Linked DNA regions of Homo sapiens: region 2 is linked to region 1. Evidence: promoter capture Hi-C in human tissues and cell types (Jung and others, 2019). All regions are on one chromosome and are shown on one strand. The core of a region is centred on a gene start or on the middle of the fragment in contact, and the rest is flanking DNA. Distances in the headings are between cores, read along the strand shown. Region 1 holds the start of TEX30 (testis expressed 30). Region 2 has its middle 16 kb from the start of METTL21C.

What was found. The method cuts DNA at HindIII sites, captures the fragments that hold promoters and counts their contacts. A contact is called where the count stands out against the background at its distance.
Region 2: a fragment that was not itself captured here is called in contact with the fragment with the promoter of TEX30 in region 1 in 1 of the 25 tissues and cell types used here (IMR-90 fibroblasts).

What each region holds. Positions count from the first base shown.
Region 1 is chr13:102,772,313-102,775,497 of GRCh38, reverse strand. It overlaps TEX30 (testis expressed 30), which reads left to right and starts at 1,712. Exons shown (of 6, transcript NM_138779.5): 1 at 1,712-1,816. RefSeq lists enhancers at 602-1,279, 1,280-1,957 and a silencer at 1,540-1,879. The HindIII fragment of the contact is 8,936 bases long and covers 1-3,185 here.
Region 2 is chr13:102,709,785-102,712,969 of GRCh38, reverse strand. No RefSeq gene overlaps it. Among named protein-coding and RNA genes, the nearest start is that of METTL21C, 16 kb to the right of the region's middle. The HindIII fragment of the contact is 5,904 bases long and covers 1-3,185 here.

The DNA of each region.
Region 1 (3,185 bases), core at 463-2,962:
TGGTCTCCCAAAGTGCTGGGATTACAGGCATGCGCCAGGGCACCCGGCCACTGGCTAGCTATATTTATACCTACTCCTTCATCGTACGCTAAATAAGGGGTGGGTTATTCACGAATTTTCTAGAAAAGGGGTGGGGAGTTCCCCGGAACTGAGAATTCTTCCGTTTTTAAACCATATAAGGTAAGGTCTGGGCATTGCCATGGCATTCGTAAACTGTCAGAGTGCTGGTGGAAGTGTTGTAGCATGTTCATGTATTATAATTAGTGTATAATGAGCAGTGAGGGCACTAGAGGTCACTTTGGTCACCATCCTGGTTTTAGCTGGCTTGGGCCTGTTTCTTTAGGGCAGTTTTGGCCGTTTTTTTAGGGCATCCTGTTCTGACCAGATCCTGTTTTGCTCAGCAGGTGGTGATCAGTGCTTGGAAAGTCCTGCTGATCTCCTACCTCAACTATAACTGTGCAAATACTTTTCAGGGGGATAATGGAAATGTTCTTAAATTATAGTGATGGTTGCAAATGGTTTTAAAATTACTGAAAATGATTGAATGGTACACTTCAAATGAGTGAATTTTATGGCATGTAAAGAAATGTTTTTTAAAAACACAGCTAAAAAATTAGGAGACAAAGAAGTATTAAGACTTTGTAATTTGGGGAAACACTTGTGATAAATGACAGCGACTATGTGGTTTTGTGGAATGTATTTCCTTGTATGTACCGTGACAGAAAAGAGGGCAGGTGCCAACTGCACTGGGCTTGGGGAAGATTCATTCATTTAAGAAATTTTTTTTTTTCTGAGCATTATTCATACACAAGAGGTTCACGGTTAAAACAAAAATTTACAAAAAGCAACCCTTTCTTCACCTGGGAGCTTATAGCGCAGTGAGGAGACACAGATACATCCATAGCTCGTGAGGTGACCGGGGAAGGACAGGAAGAGCGGGGAGGTGATCAGGGGAGGCCTCGCTGTGAAAACCACGCGCCCTGTCGACCCCGAGGAGACGCGGCCCACGCTGGGAGGGAGCAGCCAGGACAAAAGCCGGTCGTCGTGGGGTCCCGCCTGGTGAGTGGGGGTGAGGACAGCGAAGTGTGGGCTGCCCTGGGCTTCCAGGGAAAGGAGCCAGATGGAGAGGGGAGATGTGGGGGACCGATCGCGTGCAACAGCCTAGGCCACTGCCGGCCGCTGGCTGTGGCAATGAGCGCGGAGCCTTTGGAAGATCCAGGGGACAGGCTTCCACAGCATCCACGTGGCTGCGGCGTCGCCGACAAGGCCCAGGCGGGGGCAAGATGGTACGAAGCGACCATTTAAGTGATTGTTACAATCATCCCCGCAAAGATAACAGGGGGCTTGACCCCATGTAGAAGTGTGCGAAGCGGCTGGTTTCTGTCAGCGTTTGACCTTAACGGGAGTAACGAATCGACTATGGGTGTGAGGAAGACTGGTCAGAGCTGATCGCGCCTCGGAATGGAGTGGTGGCTGGGATGCGGAAAGGCCCCGAGTGGAGCAATCCTGGGTGAGGCGGAAACGGGGGCTGACTTTCCAGCCGTCCGCGTGCTACTGAGGCGGCGGCCACCCTGGCACCTTCCCCTAGCTCCGCTAGTCCGCGCGTACAGCCCTGGGATGTGGCGGGCTGGGAGACCCACGCTCCCGGCGTGCTCTGCGGCCCGGCCCGCGCACCCGGGGGGCGTGGCCTGCGCGCGCGTGCGTCGTAGCCGAACGCTGTGGCGGGGCAGGCGAGGCGGTCGCTTCGAGCGCGCTAGTCAGCTCCCTGAAGGGAGTGACGGCGGTTGGGTGCCCGCGGCCACTTTTGCCTTCCCGGGTAAGTGCGGCGGTGGCGGTTGGCGCCGCCGGCTGACGGGCGGCTTCCTGGGAGACGGGGAGAGCACCCGGCAGGCCCGCCTGAGACGTTTGAGGCTCGCGGGCGTCACTCCTCAGGGGCGTCTGGTCCGAGCCGGGAGGCGTTCCGCTAAGTTCGGTGCCCGCGGGCACCAGCCGGTGGGGGCTTCGTCCGCTTTGCCGGGTAGGAGGGCGGAATGTGGGGTTGGTACGGGCGGGGAGAGCCGGACGGGGCCAACCTGGACCACGTCAGCCAGTCCCGGGTGACTGGCTCGAAGTAGCCTCGGAGTTGAGAGGGGTCGACCGGGGCAGCCCGCGGCGCAGCCCCGGCAGCGCGCATTTGCGGAGAGAACGGATCCCGTGCCCCGAGCGCCGCCGAGCCCCGCACGCCCGTGAGACCCGCTTTGAATTTTCTCTCCATGTTTGCTGGGGTTGTTGACCCGACCCCCCGTAAGACTCGGACTCAACGTTTTTGTTTGCCCCACGACAGCCAGCTTAATGCTGTGGACGTAACAGGGCACGAACGTTTGTAACTGAAAGTTGAAGGGGCTGTGGCGTCTCCGTCCCGTGGCGTGGGAGGTGATCGCCCAGCCCTTGTGAGTAGTTGTCGTCCTAGAACTCCGCCGACCGCCTAGCCGGTGGAGCCGGCGCTCCGGACGCCACTAGAGCTGGCGTTTCGTGGGCGCAGCACCTCTAGCCGGTCATCTTCACCATCGCCATTGAGGGCACTGAGGCCGGGCCAGGCTTCAAACCCTGCCCTCTCTGAACCTGAAGCCAGAGATGAAAACCCAGACGACAGTGGCCTGGCACGGTGGCTCACGCCTGACCCCAGCACCATGGGAGGCCGAGGCGGGTGGATCACCTGAGGTCAGGAGTTCAAAACCAGCCTGGCCAACATGGTGAAACCCCGTCTCTACTAAAATTAGCTGGGCGCGGTGGCGGACGCCTGTAATCTCAGCTACTCGGGAGGCTGAGGCTGGAGAATCTCTTGAACCCGGGAGGCAGAGGCTGCAGTGAGCCGAGATCGCGCCGCTGCACTCCTGCCTGGGGGACAGAGCAAGACTCTGTCTCAAAAAAACAAACCCAGATGACCTAGAGCAGGTTGCTTGGGGATTGCATTATGGGGCATTTTCCGTGTTTCTGAAGAAAACCAGCATGTGTGCAGCTGCCGTGAAGAACACACTGTGCATCGTGAAGTCTGAAAAGAAGTAAAGCAGACCGGGAGAGGTGGCAAACGCCTTGGGATCCCAACGGTTTGGGAGGCCAAGGCAGGGGGTATCGCTTGAGCCCGGGAGTTCAAGACCAGCCTGCGAAACATAGGGAGACCCTCGTCTCTACAAAAACATTTAAAA
Region 2 (3,185 bases), core at 195-2,694, 62 kb after region 1:
TCCCGAGTAGCTGGGACTACAGGCACCCGCCACCACGCCTGGCTAATTTTTTGTATTTTTAGTAGAGACGGGGTTTCACCGTGTTAGCCAGGATGGTCTTGATGTACATTTTTTAAACAACTTTTCAGAGACTGATATGGTTTGGCTCTGTGTCCCCACCCAAATCTCACCTTGAACAGAGATCTAGCCCTTTATCAGAGACTTAAATTGCAAATATCTTTTCCTAGTTTGTTAATTTATCTTGTGATCTTGCATCTGAATTTTTTTTAGATGGAATCTCACTCTGTCACCCAGGCAGGAGTGCGGTGGCACGATCTTGGCTCACTGCAATCTCCACCTCCTGGGTTTAAGCCATTCTTCTGTCTCAGACTGCTGAGTAGCCGGGATTACAGGTGTGTGCCACCACACCCGGCTAATTTTTGTATTTTGAGTAGAGATGGGGTTTCACCGTGTTGGCCAGGCTGGTCTTGAACTCCTGACCTCAGGTGATCCACCCTCCTCGGCCTCCCAAAGTGCTGCAATTACAGGCGTGAGCCACTGCACCCAGCCTTGCATCTGAATTTTTTGTCATACAGTATTATTTAAATTTTATGTGGTCAAATTTATACCTGTTTTTGAGACAGAGTCTTGCTCCATTACCTAGACTGGAGTGCAGTGGGGTAAATCATAGCTCACTGCAACTTCAAACTCCTCGGCTCAAGCAATCCTCTTGTGTCAGCCTCCTGAGTAGCTGGGACTATGGGTGCATGCCACCACTCCTGGCTAATTTTATAATTTTTAGTAGAGATAAGGTCTTGCCATGTTGCCCAGGCTGGTCTCCAGCTTCTGGGCTCAGTGGATTCTCCTGCCTTGGTCTCCAAAAGTGTTCGGATTACAGGTGTAAGCCACCATGCTCAGCCAAAATTTGTACATCTTTTAGACATTGGTTTTGGATTTTTAATGATGGTTTAAAAAGTTTTCTTAATTCTCAAGTCATAAAGAAATTAACACATGCCTTCTAGTACTTATAGCTACATTATTTACATTTAGATTTCATCCATTTGGAATTTATTCCTGTGTATTTTTTCCCACATAGCTCAATATTATTTATGAAATAATTCAAAACTTCCCCATGACTTGAGATAATACCTTCACTATTTATTAAACTTCCATAACCATATATGTCTGTTTCCAGTTGTGCTATTCAAATGCGAACTTTGGCCTGTTTTTCTATCACATATCAATACCATGAAGCTTTGAATATAGAAGTTTTATAATGTTTTAAATAACTGATGGGATTAGCCTCCCACATTGCGCTTTTTCCAAAATTTTCTTTGATAGTCTTGTTTATTAATTTTACTTATTTATTCATTTATTTTTTGAGACAGAGTCTCGTTCTGTCGTCTAGGATGGAGTGCAGTGGCATGATCCTGGCTCACTGCAGGCTCTGCCTCCCAGGCTCAAGCGATTCTCCTGCCTCAGCCTCCCAAGTGTCTGGGGTTATAGGCGTGCACCACCACGCCCAGCTAATTTTTGTATTTTCAGTAGGGACAAGGTTTAGCCATGTTGGCCAGGCTGATCTTGAACTCCTGACTTCAAGTGATCCACCTGCCTTGGCCTCCCAAAGTGCTGGGATTATAAACATGAGCCACCTTGCCTAGCCTATTAATTTTTTTTAAAATACAAACCCTATAATCTAGCTCCAGAGGGCAAAATCAGCGTTTTTAATGGAATTGCATCAAATTTATATAGTAAGGGGGAAATTACATCTTAAGGAATTAAGTCCTCCTATCAAGAACGTATTATGTTTTTCCAATTGTTTAAGTCAACTTTGTGTCTTTTATTAGTGTGGCCTATAATGGCATTTCAGTCAATAATGAGCCACGTACATGACCAAACTACCTGGCTAAGGAGTGTGGACCAGGAATACGGTCAGAAATCTTTTAAATCAAGTTTTTAGGAGGCTGCTCCAATGATCAACAACATCAGATGCCTGTGGGTGGTAAGGAGAGAAAGGGCCATCAAGTAGCTATTTGCTGGTGGTTCACAGAGCTGAAAATATGGCAAAGATTATCTTCAAGGGCCACAATGATGTGGCCAGAGTTGGTTAATGGAACTAGAACAATAACACCACCACCTGAAAAGGTGTCAAGAGTAGCAGGGCACCACCATAGTCCCATGAAGGGCCCAAAGGTCAGGCTGTGGGCGGCAGCAGGGAAAGCATCCCTGCCACGAGGCCACACCATTGTGAGACAAGTAGGTCAACTTGTGGCAGGAGCTCCAGTGGGAGCCCCCGCATCATAAACATGGAGTCCTGCACGTTGTGCCATCCACAGTGGTGGGTGCGTTCCCACATCCAGCACAGCGATGGGTCCAGAGAGCAACGTGGCCATCTGCTTAGTGCAGGCTCCACCGGCAGCTTGGCTCTAATCGGTCTCATCAGAGAAGGGGCCTTGATCATTTCCATCTATGTGAGTGACCCAGATGTTTCTCTCAGCAGTCACGATTTGTTTCCACAGTTTGTGACCTGCAAACGGGATGCTGTTCATCTGGAATCTGTAGTTTTCCAAGTGGCTGACCAAATGCTTAGCCGTTGACAACAGCCCAAGAATGACTAAAAATAGGGCAAGTTGCATCAAGGGCAGTCTTGGCCAGACCTGCAAGAACAGCCATGCATTCTGCCTTCTGAGCAGACAGCTCACATCTGTTTTTGGATCTGTGTAGTCACAGCAGCTCAGGGGACACCACTGGGGTTCAGCTTGGAAAAACCATCAGTGACCCAGGCCCATGCATTTAGGGGAACCTCTGTAAAGTGAGGGCCCCATGGAGCCACAGCTTCGCCTCAGGTGGTGAATAGGAGATAAAATTTCCCTCAGAGGGCTTGTGCCCACTGTTTTGTGTACAGCCGAGATGCTGCTGGGGCCAGGCTGTCCAAATTCCATTTTCCAGCCTAGGCTTGTTGGACCCTTCTCACCATGTTAGCGATTGAGTCTGAGTTTAAACAGACCAGAGAGTCACAAGGCCTTTATAGGTCAGGTGTGCAGTTTCAATTAGAGGACAAGACCAAGCTGATAGCTGATTTTCAGAAGGAGTATGCCTGGTAGTCACAACAGGGAAGTGACAAGTTCAACACTTCTGGGCATGTGTTTGGGTGGAGGGTGTCTCCCATTGCCAGGGACCCCATTTGGCATAATCATTGGTCACCA